Regions from separate parts of the Homo sapiens genome. Here region 1 is linked to region 2. Evidence: promoter capture Hi-C in 16 types of primary human blood cells and fetal thymus (Javierre and others, 2016). All regions are on one chromosome and are shown on one strand. Each heading gives the region's core, a stretch centred on a gene start or on the middle of the fragment in contact. The rest is flanking DNA. Distances are from core to core; before and after follow the strand shown.

What was found. The method cuts DNA at HindIII sites, captures the fragments that hold promoters and counts their contacts. A CHiCAGO score of 5 or more calls a contact.
Region 1: a fragment that was not itself captured here is called in contact with the fragment with the promoter of RADX in region 2 in 1 of 17 cell types (naive CD4 T cells); the score reaches 5.1 in naive CD4 T cells.

The regions. Positions count from the first base shown.
Region 1 is chrX:106,500,647-106,505,158 of GRCh38, forward strand. No RefSeq gene overlaps it. Among named protein-coding and RNA genes, the nearest start is that of RADX, 110 kb to the right of the region's middle. The HindIII fragment of the contact is 6,045 bases long and covers 1-4,512 here.
Region 2 is chrX:106,610,379-106,614,643 of GRCh38, forward strand. It overlaps RADX (RPA1 related single stranded DNA binding protein, X-linked), which reads left to right and starts at 1,600. Exons shown (of 14, transcript NM_018015.6): 1 at 1,600-2,345. The coding sequence starts at 1,703. RefSeq lists enhancers at 1,595-1,784, 1,825-2,164. The HindIII fragment of the contact is 18,100 bases long and covers 1-4,265 here.

The sequences.
Region 1 (4,512 bases), core at 1,751-4,250, 110 kb before region 2:
TTTTCAAAGAACTAAATTTTGATTCATTGATTATCTCTTTTTCTTCTATTCTCTATTTGTTTATGCCCATTCGAATCTTTATTTCCTTTCTGCTTGCTTTATGTTTAGTTTGTTCTTGTTTTCCCACTGAATTTCACAAATTCAATTATAACTGTTATAACAATGACAAGAGAAAACGTAAATACTAAGAAGACAAACAAGCTAATTTTTGAAATGGGCTAAATATTTGAATTGGCGTTTATCCAAAGAAGATATATGAATGGCTGATAAGCACAGGATATAACTTCTAACATCATTAGTCATTAGGTATATGACAACCCAAACCGCAATGAGATAGTAATTTACAACCACTAGATTGGGTATAATAAAAAAATAGCCAATAACAAGTGTTGGTGAGGATGTGAAGAAAATGAAAGTTTCATACATCACAGATAAGACTGTAAAATTATGCAGAAATATTGGAAATTCTTTGGCAGTTTCTCAAATAGTTAAACATTGAGTTATCCTATGACTCAGAAATTCAACTTTTAGTTACATATCTCAGAGAAATAAGAACATATGTCCACATAAAAACCTGTACAGGAATGAAAATAGCAGCATTATTTATAATAGTCCAATATTGGAAACCTCTCAAAGGTTCACCAACTGATGAATGGCTAAATGAAATGTGGTCAATTCATATGATGGAATATTATTCAGCAATGAAAAAGAGTAAAGTACTGATGTATGATAAAACATGGATGAACCTTGTAAACAATATACTAAGTGAGAGAATCCAATTACAAAATACCAAATATTGTATAATTCAGTTTATATGAAATGTCCAGTATTCTGGGTAAACTCATACAGTGTTGTAATTACTGTGGGGCTAGGAATGGGAGAGGGAAGGGACTTCAAATGTATTACAAGGCTTTGTTTTGGAGTGATAAAATATTTTTGACATTAGATAGTGGTCATGTTTGCACAACTATGTGAATATAGTAAAAATCACAGCATTGTACAACTAAGATAATTAATTTTAGGATACGTAAATTATGTCTTAAAAAGAGGAGAGAGATCAAGAGATGAAGAGAGATGGGACATGGTGAAAAGGGCTATGAGATGTGTAATTGCAGTTCCAGAAGGAGAGAAGCCGAAGAATGGATAAAATAAATATTGAACACGAAAATAGCAAAGAATATTGTAAAAATAATAAAAGATATAAAGCCATACATCAAGTCGTGCTACAAATCCCAAGCAGAATGCATGTAAAGAAATCACACATAGGTGCATTACAATGGAATTACTGAAAAAGGAAAATATTAAAAAACCAAGTCCACAGAAGATATTTAAATGGAATTTACAACAGGAAATTGGTTAAAATAGGTGTTCAGAGTGCCAGAAATAACTACCAATCCAAGGCCTGGGAAAGCAATTAGGATATTTGGGTAAGACTTGGACCCAGACCTCTGATAAAATGGGCTGCCCAATTAGAGATGGCACTGAAACAGCTTGGAGAAAGAGCCCCTACCGAATTGGAACATTTACATTTAAATCAGGGGAGTTGCTTAACTGGTACTGAAGTCTCAGGTTCTTGAAGGAGGAGTCCTTCTGAAGTGAAAGCCACCATAATAACAATAGTTCTTCATATTTAGAGAGAAACTATGAAATTGGCCCTCCTGTTCCTACTAAATCCACATGGCCCTGCCCAGGTAGATGTCTTTTGTGAGGGTGACAAAAAGAAACAGGAAGCAGAGAGAAGAAGAAGCAACTTTGTTCTCCCTCCTTCAGACTTCCTGTCTCCCTTTGTTGTCCTAGTCAGTCTAACAGGAAGTAAAGGAGAAAAAGGGTTGGTAGAACCTCTGCCTCAGAATACTGTCAAAGGAAAATGAAAACTTGGGACCCTAATTTCACTGTGCCAAAAGAAAAGAATTAAGCTAAAAGCTGAGTCATGCAAGAAGCCGCCTTTCCTTTTGTTCCTAAGCAGATAGCTACAAATAAAAAGTTAAATATCTCCACAGGTAGCTACTCTGTGTTCACCTTATTTTATGTAAAATGCCAATTTACTGAGCATGAGACCAGAACATAATTGACTCCTTCCTTACTTGCTCCTTTTCTCTTGCAGCATGTGGATTCAGTAATGTGACCGTACTCTCCCTTTTTCCCCTCCAGCCTGCTTTTCCCCTTTAAACACTGAAGCCCTGAGAATCATCTTTGGGGAAAGGCACAGACCTGTCTCCCAGGTGCATGTCCTTAACCTTGGCAAAATAAACTTCTAAATTGATTAAGATCTGTCTCAGATACTTTACGGTTTACAAATTGGTAACCACAAAGGGAGGGATTCTGAGTGGAAGTGCTTCTGACCTGACAGCTTGGGCTTGACCTCTAGACAGCTTGAGCTGTCTTTATTGCTCAAACCAATAGGATGATTTGCTGAGGCCTGGGAGCTCCCCACTCCAGAGAATCCCTGATATCCCAAAATTTGGCTGAGATCTAGGTTTATTTTGCTGTACATCTCCTTTTCTAGAGTTTTACTCACTTCCAACAGGGAAGGCAAGTTTGAGTATTTTCCTTCTTCTAGGATGGTACAAAGAAATCTTTAGCCTGGGCCCCAGTTCCTAGGTAAGTATCTAAATTGGGGTTTTGTCTTGGAAATTCTTTTTAATGACTAAAGTTAAGATTAACAACCGGCTGGTCTTAATTTCTCCTTACCATTAGAGTGCTGAGTAATTATATAAAATGTGTAGCTGTTTGTTTTGCTTAACTGGCTTTTTTTTTTTTTTTTTTTTTGCTTATTTGTTTGTTTCTGTTTTTGTTACTGTTTCAGTCTTTCTCCCATTGGGTTTTGACCAATTCTACCTGACTTGATCAAATCTAAAGTTCAAAATTATGGGGAACAAGGACTCTGAATTGGCTAAATTCCTGTAACTGGAAAAAAAAAAAAAAGGAAAAAGATAAAATGACAAGAAAAAGGAAAAAAAAAAAACTTTTGACTACCCTGAGGGGTTTTATTTACATAGCTTGGCACTTTTTGCCAGCCAAGCCAAAATGAAAGAGCAATGGTTGTCATCCACCCTGTAGTTCAGTAGCTAAGGTTCTGCCCCCTTTTTTGTTCACCACAATAGCCTGGGTTTTATTGCTAAATCAAGTCCCTTCCAGTTTAATATTTGTGTTACTTTTGAAATAGCAATTTGTCCCAGCTAAAATATGGTGAGATTTAAAAGGATTTTTTTCAGAGCTCAATGGTTAAAAGTCAGCTTTATTAAAAGCTAATATCCAAGGGGTGTGTGTGTGTGTGTGTGTGTGTGTATGTGTAAGGTCTTTATGGTTTTTTTTTTCTCTCACAGGATCTTGATTTCTGAGAACAAGATTTCTTTCTTTTCCATCAACTGAATTTAGTTTTCTCCATTTACTTTTGCCTGTTTCTCCTTTCTCTTGCCACCCTCTGCTGCATAAGAGACCTAAAATAATTTCTAACAGACCGAGATTCCTTATAGAAAACAGAGAAGGCACCAGGCTCCCTTTTTGGTGAGAAACTTCTGTTTCTCCTTACGGAACCCCAAGAGTGTAGAGACAAGTTCCTCTCAGATCTTAAACTGCTTACTTGTGTATTGTGTTACCTGATTTTTTTTTAACTGAAATAGCTATTAGAACAAACACTACTCGAGTGTGTAAGATAAAAAAGGGTGTGGTTTAGATACTTAGAGAAATATGTTTGTAACTAAGTGCATTGTAAAAGTATTATGTGGCCAAGTCCCATGACATTTTTTTCTTTTTGGAGACACAGGATTCAGTGTAGGCTCTGCCCAGAGCTCAGAAATTCAGTTAAAAGATAGCTACTAAATTTAAAACTACCTGTCTGAATAAAATTGACCTCCTTATAAAATCCTGTGATAGATTTCTATAACTTTATGTTTGACATGGCATGCATTTTTAATCACCCTCTCTCATACCAGACTCTCTCTCTCTCTCTCTCTTAATCCCTCTCTGTCTCTATCTTAATCTCTCTCTCTCTGTCTCTATCTCTCTCTCCTGGCCACTTTGAGATGTAAATTTCCCTATCTGATTTTCACCTGAGTTGTTCCTTTGATATACAATTTTAGGGCTATGTAGCTGACACTTGCCTAGGGTAATGAAACAGGTTATCAAGAAATCGGAAGTCTAAAATAGGGAAAAAAGAGGTCTTATGAATCTATAAGATCTACTATCTGTGTGTCTAATACATCTATGAATTTATGTGTCAAGTATATAACGTTTCACTATCAAAAGTATATAAAAGAGCTCTAACTGATTGGCTTGAAGGAAAATAAAGTGCTTAAATAAAATACTTTATCATAAAAATAGAAACTTTAAGCTCGAGCGTGTATTCAAGTTCACGAGTTAAGTAAACCCTTAATAAATAAGCTGGTTTTAAAATTATTAGTAAAATAAAATTAGAAATGTCTTCAGAATCGTCAACATACATTTTGTTTAAATTTATTGGTCAAGCGGTTTAATATTTATCTCTGCTAGGTATTATAAGGTGTCAAAATT
Region 2 (4,265 bases), core at 350-2,849:
TTTTTTTTTAACTGCAAGTATTAGATGATAAGTATCAAATGAGTGATACAAGGTGATACAGAGAAGAGAAAGATTATCCTAGACTGAATTGGTGAGGGGAGGCATCATGAAGGAAGTGGGGTTCAAGACTAAGTGTCATGTCACTCCTTTGCTCATAATAGAAGAAACCCTGCTACCTCTCTGACCTCACCTCCTACCACTCTCCCCCTCGCCCCTCCACTGCGGCTGATTGGCTTATGCATTTCCTTGAAAATATCAAGTATGCTTCTGTCTCATGGAATTTATTCTTCTTGTTTTCTCTGATTCAAGTGCCATTCCCCTAGATATCCACATAGCTCACTTCCTCACTTCCTGCACATCTCTGTTCTGTTCAGTCTCTTACTAGAGAACCTTTCTGTAATCATACTTTTTATAAAATATTAACTCCTGTTCCCTCCACTTTATTTCCCCTTACTATGTTTTTTGGTCTCCCTAGCAAGGCTATACCCTGCCCAGACCAGACACTCAAGAAATCTGTATAGAATGAGTAAATTAGTTAAGTATTAATAACGGCAGGGCTCTTTAGCCCAAGCAATGAGAAGAAACTTGAGGGAAGGACCCTGACTACAGTTATCCCCAGTGGCCTAAAACAGTGCCTACCTCATATAGAGACTTCATAAATAGTGAATAAAGAATGATAAAATAGAGAGCCAAAGGAAATTAGTATAAACAAAATCAGCTCATAACCATCTTAAAAAGTATTCTTAGAACAATTACTCCCTTCTATGTATACTGGATCTAAGTACATCTATTAAATATTTTATCCTTAATTTTTACTATTCTTATCAGCTTTTTCACTTTACATTCGTTCCTGATATATGCCTTGCATTAAACAAACAAACATTAAACAAAGTTTCTGAAATCTCTACCCTAGATGTATATTAGGCCAGGTATTATATTAAAACTAGCTGCATTTTAAGAAGTCTAATCTAAAGGCAGCCCTTTACAAGCCAGTTCTAGTTTTCTATTTTCATTTGCACTTAAACACTAATTCACCCACCCTACACTCAGGGAGCCACTACAGATAATTATGCTAATGCTAATCGCAATAGCAGCTAATGTTTACTGAGGACTTTTTGTGCTAGAGTCTGTCCTGGAGGCTCTGCATAAATTATCTGGTTTTGTTCATACTACAGGAAACCCATGTTATAACATTAACATATGTTAACCAACTCTAAATTACTTTCTGTTCCTGGCCCAAAGCCCAAACCCCCAAATCCCTGAGCTTTGACTCTGCACCCTGATTCTTGCCACTTTCTCTTTTCCCTTGCCTCTAGGCATCCTCCTTTCCAGGGGACCACAAGCGCTCTCCCCCTCCCTCTTTGAGAACCATGACAACCACCGATTCCCCCTCCCCTTCCCCTGTCATCCCTCCCCCAGACGGCAACCCGGCGGGCACAAGGTCGGACGACCTGCTACGTAACTCGCGCGTGTGACTGCCTAGTAACAGTGTCTCGAGTCGGAAGCGCTCGGAGCGAGGGGCGGGGTGGGAGAGCTGGCGCGCGCACGCGTAAAGTCTTTGCAGCCTCGCTACGGGGCGGAGTCTTGCCTGTCAGCAGGGGCAGAGTAGCGATCGTCGCCAAAGCGCGCGGTTTTATTTCTCTCCGCTTTGGACGGGGCAAACTAGCTTTTGGGAGTGAAGCGGGTACGCAGTTATCCAACAATGTCTGGTGAGTCAGGACAGCCTGAGGCTGGTCCCTCACATGCAGGGCTAGATTGGCCGAACCCTGAGAGGAATCGGGCTGGGGTCCCGGGAGGGGTGATCCGAAGAGCTGGTTCCCAAGGGCCCAGGTCCTGGATCCAAAAGGTTCTTGAGCAGATTATGGACTCACCTCGCCAGTGTGTCACCCCCTCGGAGGTGGTGCCTGTAACTGTGCTGGCCGTCCAGAGGTACCTGTTAGAGGATGAGCCACGCGACACGGTGCCCAAGCCTCCCCTTTATTGCTATGATGTGACGATCTCAGATGGGGTGTACCAGGAGAAGTGCTACCTGGACCCCAGCTTGAACTCTCTCGTATATCAAAATATTCTTAAAGTTGGCATTCAAATGAGAATTTCCAGGGTCTCATGTCTTTACAATGAGAAAAGGATAGGCCAGGGGATCCTGTGCATAGATAACGTCCACTGTGGGGAGACTTCAGACAGTATTTCTTTAGAAACTCCCTTCAGAAATAGAGCGCACCAGGAGAAACCAGAGAGGCCTTTAAGAGGCGGGAAGAGTCATTACCTGGCGCTGTGGAATAACGAAGATCCCTATGGAGATATCTGGTTAACAGACAAGCAACCTGAGGAACACAACTTTAGCGGTAAGTGTTTGGAAAGAACGGCAGAGGGTTTTAAAAAAAATAGTTTTCAGGAGCTTGCGTGAACGGGAAAGGAAATGAAAATGCTTTTGTATTGTTAATTACAAGCCAGGAGTGGTAGGTAGACAAGTTTTCTTAAATGACCAAGGGATGCTCAATGAAATTTGCACAGCCAGTGGTTTTTGTTGGTGTTTTTTGTTTGTTTGTTTCTTTGATTGCAAAAGTGGCCAATTCAGGAAGTGTGTTTGACTACATCTTAAAATTCAGTCTGGCAAACGTACTGATGTGGGAGTCAGTATTCCTCATACGTTCGTTACATGTTTGATTGTGGTGGAATTAATCTTAGTTTTATTCCCAATCCAGTTGTGGAAATAGTACGTTGTGTCGGTTGAAGAGCTTATAGATTTGAATTTAGCATAAAGGTTGTAAAAATTTGCGGGTTTGCATGTTTTAATCTTCATTCAAAAAGGATGCTCCGTGATGTATTCCTTAATACTTTACATTGATTGAAACGCCGTGTAACAGTTATGTAAATATCACCTTTTAACGGTGTGATTTTTATGGGAAGGCTTGACATTCTCATTTTCTTGTTTCTTATTACTCACCACAAAGAGTACTGATCTGGGAACTTCAATTTTTCTGTATCAGAAGTAGGAAGTTAGCTTGAAAACACTAGCTTGCCATCAGCAACTGCTCTAAAATACGTTTTTTTTCTCTAACAGATGAAATTAAGGGGAATGATAGTACTGTAGGCATGAACACGTTTGAAATGGGGAAAGAAATAAAATGCAAAAAATAAAATAAGAGAAAGTACTGGAAGGAGAAAGACTATAATTTTCTACATTACTGCTTTTCAGTCCCTTTTACAATGTTGTCACAATGCTAAATCACGGATAATCTTACTGTGACGTGTAAGAGCAACAAACTTGAAAGTAAAAGAATAACTAGCTCAAAAACCATGCAATTATAGTCACATCCAGTTGTAAGGAAAAAAGATGTTATAGAAATGTGTAGGTAAGGATATTTTAAATAACTAAATTTTAAAAAGCAAGATAGCTATTTCAGGGATGAAAAAATGGAGTGATTTTATCTCAAGTGTGAAATAAGGCAGTAGTGCATTACTACTCTAAATGTTGATCACTTTAATTTTTAGAATTGAATATGTAAATGAAAAACTGGTGCCCTACAAGAAAAGTTGAGGGGATTAATACTTTGTAAAATGTATTTTGTCGTAATATCTATTCATTCATTAAAACCATATTTATAATACAAAAGGCAATGTCTGTATGCCAAAATAAAACCCAATCTGTATATTTGAAAGTATATTGTGTTAGAAATATACCACCAAAGTATAGTAAAATGTTAGTGATAAAATCTAGGAAGTGGGCATATTGATGTTCACTGTAAAATTTATTCAGTTTTGCTATATGTTTCAAATTGTTAATAATAAAATATTAGGGAGAAGTGAAAGACCTCTTTCACCTTCCCTAGTGCCTTCACCTTTCTTCTAAAAATCTCAAATTGTCAGCAGTTTGTTGTGTATTTTTTTAAAAAAAAGGAATTAATGTCGCATTGTGTGATTTGCTATTTCCACTGAACACATCTCAGGCATCTTTCATGTACATCTGTACATACAATATTCCATAGCATGGGTGTGCCATAATTTCTATAATCATGCCCATGTGAATAGGTAATTTGTAGTTTTAGGCACTTATTAGTGTTTTAGTATTACATACAATGATAAGCATCATTAGAATGTACACATATTTTTGTTTACTATGTTCAAGCATTGCTGTTGAACGGCTTCCTCTGGCGAAATTGCTGGCTTAAAAGGTATTTAATTTTTTTAATTTTGTGGATATAGACAGATCATCTTCTGAAAAGGTTGTACTAATTTACATTTACCAACATACATATGAGAAT